2 separate regions of the Homo sapiens genome follow, and region 2 is linked to region 1. Evidence: promoter capture Hi-C in human tissues and cell types (Jung and others, 2019). All regions are on one chromosome and are shown on one strand. The core of a region is centred on a gene start or on the middle of the fragment in contact, and the rest is flanking DNA. Distances in the headings are between cores, read along the strand shown.

What was found. Contacts are between HindIII fragments. The study calls those that stand out against the background at their distance.
Region 2: a fragment that was not itself captured here is called in contact with the fragment with the promoter of CABP2 in region 1 in 2 of the 25 tissues and cell types used here (dorsolateral prefrontal cortex and lymphoblastoid cells).

The regions. Positions count from the first base shown.
Region 1 is chr11:67,521,072-67,526,506 of GRCh38, forward strand. It overlaps CABP2 (calcium binding protein 2), which reads right to left and starts at 2,375. Exons shown (of 7, transcript NM_016366.3): 1 at 2,214-2,375; 2 at 1,475-1,645; 3 at 881-911; 4 at 1-88. The coding sequence starts at 2,255. The HindIII fragment of the contact is 19,085 bases long and covers 1-5,435 here.
Region 2 is chr11:67,690,658-67,696,092 of GRCh38, forward strand. No RefSeq gene overlaps it. Among named protein-coding and RNA genes, the nearest start is that of ALDH3B2, 19 kb to the left of the region's middle. The HindIII fragment of the contact is 4,464 bases long and covers 795-5,258 here.

The sequences.
Region 1 (5,435 bases), core at 1,125-3,624:
CCCAGGGTCCGCATGCAGGCACCCAGCTCCCGGCAGCCAATGTAGCCGTCCCGGTCTCGGTCAAACTCCTGGAAGGCGACCTGCAGCTCTGCCAGGCAGGGTGGGGTCAGTCCTTCCCCCACAACCCCCTGATCCTGGCCTGGACCCGCCTACCCTTCTCCCTTGGTCCAATCATCCCTCCTTCTGAACATCAGATTCTCTTTGCTGCCTCGGGGCCTTTGCACGTGCTGTTCCTGTTATTTGTTCTTTCAGCAAATATTTGAGGAGCATCTACTATGTGCCAAGCTCTGCTCTAGGCACTGGGGATACAGCAGTGAAATTTTTCAAAAAGGAAGAAAGAAAGAAAGTGGGGGAAACAAATTCTGACCTCTTGGAGATTTCCTCACTCTTCCCCTTCCTCTTTGGTCCTATGTCACCTACTAAAGGAAGCCATCCCTCTACATGTGGCCTCCCCCGGCCCATTTGTCCCTTTCCTGGAGAGCACATGCACCATTTGTACTTGTAGCTGACTAATTGACGTTGGTCTCCAGAGGGCACGGGCCATATCTGTCTAGCTGGCCATGTTTCCCAGTGCTCAGCCAGGGCCAGGCACACAGTGGGCACCCAGGAAGTGTCAGCTGAATGAACAAATATAAAAGGGGCCCTGTCACCTGCCTGGTGAGTGAGACCAAGGAATGACAGCTGGGTGGGGGTCTGTCATCCCCTCCCTGCTCAGTCTTGTCCCCATTTCCCTAAACTGGTCCCCTGCAGCCTTCTTGCTCCCACTTCCTCCTGGAAACACTGAGGCCCCCACCCGATGCCCCCCCAACCCTGTGTCCCCACCCCATGCCCCCCATGCCACCTCCCCTTCAGGGAACCAGTTCCTTCTCCAACCCTTTACCTTCAATCTCCTCGGGCCGCAGCTCCCGGTCCTGAAGGGCACAGAGGGGTTAGGAATTCCCTGCTCCTACTGATGACTGTGCCCTTCCTTCTTGCTTCCCGGGGCTCCCCACCCAGCCCCACAATCCAACACGCACACGCAGGGCCTGTGTCTGTCTGATTGCTCGGCCCTGGTTCCCACCCCATCCTACTCACTGGCCTGGGTAACCGGGTGCCCCCTTCCCTGCTTCTGGCCTAGGTCACTCCTTGGGCCGTCCTCACCTACTCCATCACCCTCTTCTGGGGCAGGGGGCTCCCTTTGCTGGTGGTGGATCTGGGGTTTGGGCAGAACCTCAGACTTGGTCCCGCCAGCCTCAATGTCACTGTTGATCTCTCTTCCATTTCTAGAGTCATTGCTCTCTCCCCTCTCTGCACCCCCACCCCAGATCTGTGTACCTTTGCTCTGATGTCCCCACTCAATCCTCTTCCCCCTAGCTCCAGGAGAGGCAAAGCGAGGGGCAAGGGTAGGTGGGCTGGAGTGCGAGGGGCAAGGGCAGGTGAGCTGGTGGGAGAGGGGCAAGGGCAGGCAGGCTGGCGGGCGGGTGGCCGTACATACGAGTTGGGTGGCGGCAATGCTGGGCCGCAGGAAGATGCAGGCAGGCCCCACCAGGCTGTTGAGCACCGAGTAGCCCTGGACGCCTGGCGCGGGGTCCCCCTGCTCCTTGGGGCTGGAGCTGGGGCTGGGGCAGGAGCCCCTTGGTGGGGAGCCGAGCCACTGCAAGGGGTCCTGCAGCAGAGCCGGCCGTGAGCTGGGGCAGTGGCCGCTGAGCTCTGGGCCTGATAGCCCTCCCCACTCCTCTCACCAGCTGCTCCTGTCTTTGGAGCCCGGCATGGGACAGTAGGGAAGGGGCTGGGGGGTAGAGAGAGGACCCTCACCCGTGAACTCTTTAGGCAGAAAGGGTCAATCCTCTAACTGTTCTGTTGGGCAAACTGAGGACCAGAAAAGGCAAGAGACTTGGCCAAGGCCACTGAGAAAGCCAGCGGCAGAGAGGGACCTTGTGCCCAGCTCTGTCTCCTAGATGGAGGCTGGCTAGCAGAGAGCGGGGACCTGCAGCCGGGATGGGGCAGCTGGACGGGCAGCTGGGGGACCTGGAGCCTGGCAGGGGAGACCCAGAGGTCGGTGGGAGCCAAGATCAGGATGGCCAGAGGCTGTGGCTTCCAGGAAAAAAATCTCCACCTGGGGCAGTGGGCAGCCCCCAACCCCGCCCGGCCCTCGGAGGGCTCTGCCCATCCCATCTGACCCTCAGGGTCCATTCCAGCCTCCTGGCCTGGGTTTCTCCCCTGACCCCTCCTACCTTAGGGCCCCGGCGCCAGGGCCGCTTGGCACAGTTCCCCATGGGCCCTGAACCATGCCAGGCCTGGAACCCCGGGGGTGGCCCGGGTGGGCCTCGGCGGATGCTGCTGCCTGAGGACTCCTGCCAGCCCCCAGCTGCTCCCGATGAGAGCCTGGGAGTACTGCCGGGGATTTTCCTGGGGTTTTGTGGGGAAGATCGGGGGCGGGTGGGCAGGCGGGGGACTTGGGCCTGGGGCTTGGGTCCTAATCCGGGATTATCTTTGAGCGTCTCCGCTGCTGAGGGGAGCCACTTGGGCCCAAGGCCCCCTGGAGAGCACAGCCTCCCCAGACTGCCTCCTGAGGGTCTTCCAGACGCCCCTTCTCCAGCACCCTCCCCCAACCCCTGCCTCTAATCTCTCCCAATCAGGGGAGATTTAATGTCTTCAGAAGCAGGGCCTGGGTCCCAGGAGGAGGAAGGCAGGCGTGCAGTGTGCCAGGGTGGGCTGGGCCCTCCGAATGGCACAGATTCCGGTTGGTATGGACACGCGGGCCTTCCCACACAGCCTCCCAGAAAGAGGCAGCCACTTGGCTCAGCCCAGGAAGCCCCTGCCTCTCCCTGCCAGGACCCCAGCTGGGCCCTGGGCTCCTCACCTCGGGGTAGCCCCAATTGCTTGCACTTGGCTCCCCCTGCCTGGACTGGTGCCCCGCCCTTGGATGAGGAGCAGAAGGGAACCGCCTATGTGCTGTGGGCAGTGACAGGGCTCGGTGAGGGTGGAGATTGGGAAGGGAAGCCACCCCGGCCCTGCCGACCTCAGAGAGTCTCCCATTGGACTCTGCCTCCTGGTCCCCTCCCTGGACTAAGTCCTGGGTCTGTCCTCCGGGGCCCCCAGTTGGGGTGTGGGGTCCCTGCTCTTTGTTCCTGGTCCCCTCATACCCCTGCCCGCATTACCTGCCCGTAGGCTGCCTGCACCTGGGCCTCGAGCTCCCGGAGAAGCTCTCGTCGCCGGGTGGCTGCTGGGCTGCCAGGGGCCTGGCTGGTTCCTGGAGTGCCCTCAGAGGGGCTGGGGTCCCCCGTTGGGAGGCTGCCCTCTGCTGGGCCCTGGGGCTGGGCCATGGAGATGAGGGCTTGGTACCTCCTCCTGGCTGAGGGACGCTGCTCCGTCCGGCCTCCCCAGTCCTGCGGGAGAGTGGTCTTGTGGGCAGCCACAGGTGTGGCCTGGGTCCCTGCTACTCTTCTTTCTGTCCCTTCCTCCATAAACTGGGAGAGCCCCGTGTCCCCAGAGTCTTGTATCCTCCCTAGCTCCCCGTGGCCCCTCGTGTGGCCCTGTCAGCCTGGTGAAGCCCCTCATGCTGGTCACAGACTGTGCCCGGGGCTCCACCTGATCATCCTTGTGGCCCCAGTGGTCGGCCCTCCTGCCTGCCTTTGGCCTCCTCCCCCGCAGTGTTCTGCCTGCATCTCTCTGGCTCACGCGCACCTGATGCCCCACACACCTCCTTGCTCAGTTTCCATCTCACCGCCTGCCCCTCTGTGCCCCCTCTGCCTCTGTGTCTGTTTTGCCTGCAGCCCCGTCTCCATCCCCTCTGACTCGCCGCCATCTCTGTCAGTCTGGATCCAGTGGTGTCTCTGCCGTCTCTGACCCACTCAGCCCATCTCTCTGCTGGCTCCTTCCCTCTGTTGCTGCAAGGTCCTTTCTTGCATTGGTCTTTCTGTCTGTCCTTCCTTGCTCTTCCTATTCTCCCCACCATCCCGCTCCCAGGAGAGCTCCAGAATTCTGGAAAGGCCTTCCCCATCTCCCCAGCCCAGAGCCCTAGGGTCCGTCTGTGCTGCCCACCTCCCTGCCTCCCTCCCTCCTCCCCAGGGTCCCTCTGTGCTGCCCCCTCCTTCCCTCCCTCCTCCCCAGGGTCCCTCTGTGCTAGCCCCCTCCTTCCCTCCCTCCTCCCCAGGGTCCCTCTGTGCTAGCCCCCTCTCCTCCCCAGGGTCCCTCTGCATTGCCCACCTCCCTGCGTTCTGCCAGGACCTCCACCTGGTCCTGCTGACCTTCAACCTCTTGCTTCTCAAGGAAAAGGGGTGGAGGTGGGCCGGGCAGCCCCTGCTGGCCTCTCAGGCTTCCTTGCCATGACCCCAGCCCACTCCCCACCCAGCTGCCCGCTCTTCAACTCCCAGAATGAGGTCATCATCCTGCCCCGGCTCCATTCCAGGCCCCTCATGATTTATTCATCTGTCCCCCACACTGGCCTTTGTCTAAGGGAACCAGATCCCACTAGGTGCTGCCACCTGAGCTGGTGGCTCTGGCCTCTCTCAGCCACATGCGGCCATCTATTCATGTATTCCCTCAGCAAACAGCTGAGGCTGGCTGGGCCAGCTTCTGGGGCTATGTGACAGACCCCATCTGTCCAGAGAAGCCCACTCTCAGGCATGTCTAACCAGGAAAAGAGCCACCAGACAGTCTCCAAGTACTTGGGGTCCTTGGCCCAGGCATCAGGGAGGCTTCATGGAGGAGGTGAGGGGATAAGGCAATGCTGCAGGCATTGCCTATCAATGTTTAACCTGTGCCTGGCCCTGGGAGAGAGCCAGGGTCCCTGGCACGGATCAGCCTTGAACTTGGAGTGCCCCAGGAGCTGGAACCTGGCAGGTGGGTTGGATGGAGGCCCTTGGGAGGGAGGAAGGGGCTAGTGGCCTCTGGAGAGGGTATAGGTGGCAGGAGGTCAGAGAAAATTTTTGAGAGGCTGAATCTGCAGCAAACGTTTGTCCGGCCCCTGCTCTGTACCTTCCTGGGTGCTGGAACTAGTCCCTACATCCTGGAACCTTTCACCTGCTGGGAGATGCCTATTCAGCAAACCAGAATGACAGTGGCCAGGGAAGTGCAGGAAGGGCCAAGGTTCTCAGGAGGGAGGACTTGGCCGGGCGTGGTGGCTCACGCCTGTAATCCCAACACCATGGGAGGCCAAGGCAGGCGCATCATTTGAGGTCAGGAATTTGAGATCATCCTGGCCAACATGGCAAAACCCCATCTCTACTAAAAATACAAAAATTAGCTGGCGTGGTGGCGCATGCCTGTAATACCAGCTACTCGGGAGGCTGGGGTATGAGAATCACTTGAACCTGGGAGGTGGAGGTTGCAGTGAGCCGAGATCGCCCCACTGCACTCCAGCCTGGGTGACAGACTGAGACTCTGTCTTGAAAGAAAGAAAGAAAAAAAAAAAAAAGAGGGAGGGCCTTGCTTGATGGGGTTGAGGAACTGAC
Region 2 (5,435 bases), core at 1,777-4,276, 170 kb after region 1:
GAACATGGACAATGGCTATTTCTTCAGGTAACTGAAGATTATTAAAAACATGAACAATTAGTGTTTCACGAGGAAGTTCTTTACCTTTACTGTTAATTAGTCCTTGCTTAGCCCCAATTTTCCCAAATGTATGAGATACCCCAAAGGCATATTTAGAGTCAGTATAGATGGTTTTTACCTGGTTCTGTAAATATTTTAGGGCGTGACTGTGAATAACTCGCAAGGTTGGGCAGACTAACTATTTGATAATCTTCCTGATTTTACTTCTTTTAAGATCTTCCTATAATTATAGCATATCCATTATGTCATGTCCCTTCAATTACCCGGGAGGAGACATCTATAAATAGATGTCGCTCTGTTTTAAAAGGGGTCTCTACTAAATCTGGCCTAACTTTTGTATGATAGTCAATTAAATCTAACCACAAATGTTCTTTTTTTGAGCAGTAGGTTTCCTGTTAAGAAGCTTGCTGGATTTCAGGAATTATCTGTTAAATCATCTTTTTTTTTAATAGAATAGCCTCATATTTTAAGATTCTAGAATCAGTAAGCCATCTCCCAGCTTTTTGGTTTAGGATCACCTTAACTTGGTGAGGGGTGCTCACTGTTAGGTACCCTTCAAAAGTTAATTTCTTACTTTCTTCAACTAGTATTGCTGTGGCTGCTAGAGACTGAATACACGGAGGCCATCTACTGGCAACTGGATCTAATGCTTTTGATAGAAAGGCTACTGGTTGTTGACCGCCTCCATGTTCTTTAGTGACCACCCTACTCTATTGTCTACATTCACAAAAAGATGACATGATTTTCTGAAGAGGGTAAGGCTAGGATGGGAGCAGTGATGAGTCTTTCTTTTAATTTCTCCACTTGATTAACTTCTTTAGAAGTCCATATAAGGGGATGCGTTTCCTCTTTAGTTAATTTCTTATATAAGAGCTTACTTTTTAATGCATATGAGTCCATCCATAAACGACAGTACCCAACTAATCCCAGGAATTTTTTAAGTTCTTGTTTGGTTCGGGGCAAGGGTAGAGACATGATTTTCTCAATTTTGGGGGGTCTTATTTTTCTTTTATCTGCACTTATTAAATGGCCTAGATATTTAACTTTAGGTTCTACATATTGAAGCTTTTCTTTTGAAACCCATAACCCTTTATCTTGTAGGTGGTTAAGAACTTTTGTAGAAAGTCCAGCTACCTTTTCTATCTCTTCCTTAGATGTAAGAATATTATCTACATATTGAAGAAAGCATAACTGTTTTGGGACAATAATTTTTTTTAAATACTTGACAAAAAAGATTGGGAAAATCTGTAAATCCTTGGGGTAAAAACTGTCCACCTGTATTGTTGCTTTTGCCTAAATAGGGGTCCTCCCACTCAAAGGCAAATATATTTTGGCTGTCTTTAGCCAAAGGACATGCCTAAAATGTATCTTTTAAGTCTATTACTGTGAACCACTGATGACTATATGGAATTTTACTAAGAATAGTGTAGGGGTTAGGCCCAACAGGATGAGTGGTTTGAACTATTTGATTGATAGCTCTAAGATTTTGCACTAATTGGTATGATTCATCTGATTTTTTTGACTGGTAACATTGGAGTATTGTATGGAGACATAGAAGGTTCAATAGCCCATCTTTAATAAGTCTTTTGATTACAGGCTTTAACCCTATTCTTCCTTCTAAAGGAATAGGGTATTGCTTTCTTTTTACTATTTCCCCTGGAGTCTTTAACTGAACATGTGTTGGAGGAATCTGTAAATTTCCCTGATTACCTTCCCTTGACCAGACAGCTGGATGAATGTATTTTTTATCTGCTATAGCTAACAAATTTAAAGAGGTTAGGAAACCTTTTGGACTAACTTGTAAACCTATACCTAACTTTAACGTTAAATCTCTTTCTAACAAATTGGCTTTTGCTTTAGGAATTAATAAAAATTGTATATAAACTAATCAATTTATATATTTAACTTCTGTATTTTCTAAAACTTTTGCCTTGAATCCTTCCCCTTTAACCCCAGAAACTGTTAATTCCTTTGGGGAACAAACTAAATGAGCTGAAGGAAAACAGACAGGTGAATGGGCTTCTCCTGAGTCGACTAAAAAGGTGATTAATTTATGTCTGGGTCCCACCTCTAAATTTATCAAGGGCTCTTGGTGGGACTCAAAATAGAAAAGTCAGAGCCCCTGACCCCCCTATTCTTCTTTAAAAGTGGTCACAAGTGGGGGAGCTTTTTCTGCCTTTTCTAACTTGGGACATTCCCTTTTAAAACGACCTGGTCTCCCGCATCTGTAACATCTGTCTTTTCCTTCCTCCCTACCAAGCCCAAAGCTTCTTTGCTTCTCCTCTTTATTTTCACATCCACAGCTCCTATGACACTTACTTTGACATTTTTTTCTAAAATACTGACCTGGCCGGGCGCGATGGCTCACACCTGTAATCCCAGCACTTTGGGAGGCCGAGGCGGGCAGATCACGAGGTCAGGAGATCCAGACCGTCCTGGCTAACACGTGAAACCCCGTCTCTACTAAAAATACAAAAAATTAGCTGGGTGTGGTGGCGTGGGCCTGTGGTCCCAGCTACTCAGGAGGCTGAGGCAGGAGAATGGCGTGAACCTGGGAGGCGGAGCTAGCCGAGATCGCACCACTGCACTCCAGCCTGGGTGACAGAGTGAGACTCCATCTCAAAATAAATAAATAAATTAATAAATTAATAAATTAGTTTAAAAAAATAAATACTGACCTTGCCTTCTTTTTTTGTTTTGCATTTTTGAATTCCTAAACTTTTTCCTTTTGCCTCCCCTAGAGAATTTTATAGGCCCAGGTCTAGATCTGGTCTCTGGCATCGTCTGCCAGAGACTAGTGAATTTTGCCAAAAGATTTTTGCTTTTTGCCTTTGTCTTTCCTTATTTTTTTACATATAGTTTTTGAGCCTTTTTAAATAACTTTTTTATTGATTTTTTAAATTTTCTAATTTTTGTAACTTTTTAGTAATGTCTGGCCAACTGTGAGTAACAAAGTGCAGTTTTAACATTCCTTGCCCAAGAGGGCTTTCTGGGTCTAAGTTAGCATTTTTTTTATTTGTTCTTTTAATTTATCTATGAACCTCATAGGTCCTTCATCTTTCTTTTGTTGGACATTAAATGCTTTGGAAAGGTTTTGGGGTCTGGGTGCTGACTTTTGAATCCCCCTGATTATTATTTTTTAAAAAATTCCTTATATTATTTCGGTGGGCAGCATTATTTTATCCCACTGCGGGTCCTGAGCAGGGAATTTATGATTTGCTGCCAGAACATTTTGACCTGGAGGATGTTTACGTTCCCAGATCGTATTTCTTTTTTTCCTTGAAAAAATAATACCTAGGATGCACACTGATTCAGCCCAAGTATATAACTGTGGGCCTAAAAACTGATCAATTTGATCTGCCACCCTGTTAGGATTATTTAACAGTGGCTTTAGTTCTCTTTTTATACTCCAAACTTCAGACCCAGTAAGGGGAGCATCCACAAAACCAATAGCTTCTCCTCCTTGGGGAACTTTCCTTAAAGGAAAGAATGTTGAAGTTAACTTTTTTGGGGGGCAGGAAAAGGGAAATTCTGAATATCCTTCTTACATTGTTTTAATTTTTGTTGGAGTCTTTTCTTTAAAGAAGGATATTTAGAATTTTTAGGCTCCTGGGATTCACAAGAATCTGGGTTATATGGGGGAGGCCTGGAGTGGCAGGGGGGCCTGGAGTGGCAGGGGGGCCTGGAGTGGCAGCTGGGTCAGGGATCAGGTCCAGAAGGGGATCTAGGACAGCAGCAGCTACCTGGGGAGGTGTCAGCAGGTTATTAAGAAACGGGGGAAGGTGGTCTAGAGGGTCCTATCTCTTATTAGATAAGGCCATTTTTGACTGTTTTTTATTTTCTAGTCCCCCTTTGATCGTTTTTAAAGGATAAAGAATAATATAGGCCCTTGCCGCTAGCATAAAGCATAATCAATTTTTCTTGTGACACAGGACTTTTGCTATAAACATATATTATTAAAAGTTGACAGATTTAATCTTTATCTGACCTAAATTTTGACCAAAAAACCGCTGGCTTGAGAATTGGCTTTTTAGTCCAAATAAAGCAACAATACTTAATTATCTGCTGCTTTTTTTAAATTTAGTTTTTTTATTATCTTTCCAATACTTTAACATGAGCCTTAAAGGACTATCGGGAGGGATTTGATAACTTGCATCTTTTTTTGCCCCCGATTTACTAGAAACCTTTCCCATATTGAATATCAGGTAGACTTAACCTCTTAATCCTAGAGATTTCTTGTCTATCCTGTTTTTTCCTGGCTTGCTTATATTTTTAACCTTAACGTGCTTGAGGTTTCGTTTTCCCTGAGGAGGATTTAACTCCTCTTTTTCTTTCTGGAGGCTTTTTACACTCTTCACTCGCTTTGTCCTACCTGGCCACTTTCCTCACGGGAATTTAGGCCCCTCTTAGCATTGGCGTGCCGGTATAAACCCCAAGGCAAGATCCGCCTTAAGCCGTATGAGGTAGCCACGGAACCGCAGGCAAGACTCACTCGCTCGGTCCAGCAGTAGGACTTATCATGATTTACACAAGCAACACCAGCTGCAGTGAGGCTTGTGACTATTCACACACACTTTTAACCTCCAGAATATCCCGACCACCAAGCAAGTACTTTGTCGCACCCTTGCGACGTTTCTTTACTTTGCTCTGTGAACAGAGTTTATCTGGTCCCCGAGGCAGTGCAATGCAAGCCTATTCGCCGTTTTCCACGTTGCTGAGGGTCCGGGTTTATTCATCACAACAGGTAAGTCCGGATTCCCAGTCCCTGAGGCCACCGCAGTAAGGCAGTGGGGCGCCTCCCCTTGGTGGGGGGGCGGGAATCAGAGACCCCGACCCGAAGGAGACTGGGTGATCCCAGACGAGCCCCCAAGACTGTTAGAAATAAATCCTTATTCCCCGATGTCACAAAGAAGAATCAGCAGACGAAAAGCTTCCTCAGCAAGGTGATTTTTACCTTCTGCAGAAAGAGTGCTGCCCGTCCGCAATCCTGCCACGATCGCATACAAAATAAAAAAGGCACTAGAATATTTATCCCTTACGCATGAGGTCCCTATTGCCATGTCACTGGCTGGAGCCAGACCTTACCACCTAAACTAAAACCCGATTGGCTAACAGTTTAAACTTTTTTAAATAGGTAAAGGCAGGGAGGAACGAAGGAAAAAAAGGAAGTTGCTTAGGAAAGGACTTAGAAAAGTAATAATATTCCCAAATAAGGGAGGAGTGTACGCTGCAATCTGGGAAATGCCTGGACACGTCCAGCACGAATATTTTGACTAAGGTACAAGGACGTAGAATGTACTACGTGCCTGTGAGCATGTTTAACATAGATATTGAAGTCAGAGTATGCTTATTCTGTTACATTTGCTACATAAGGC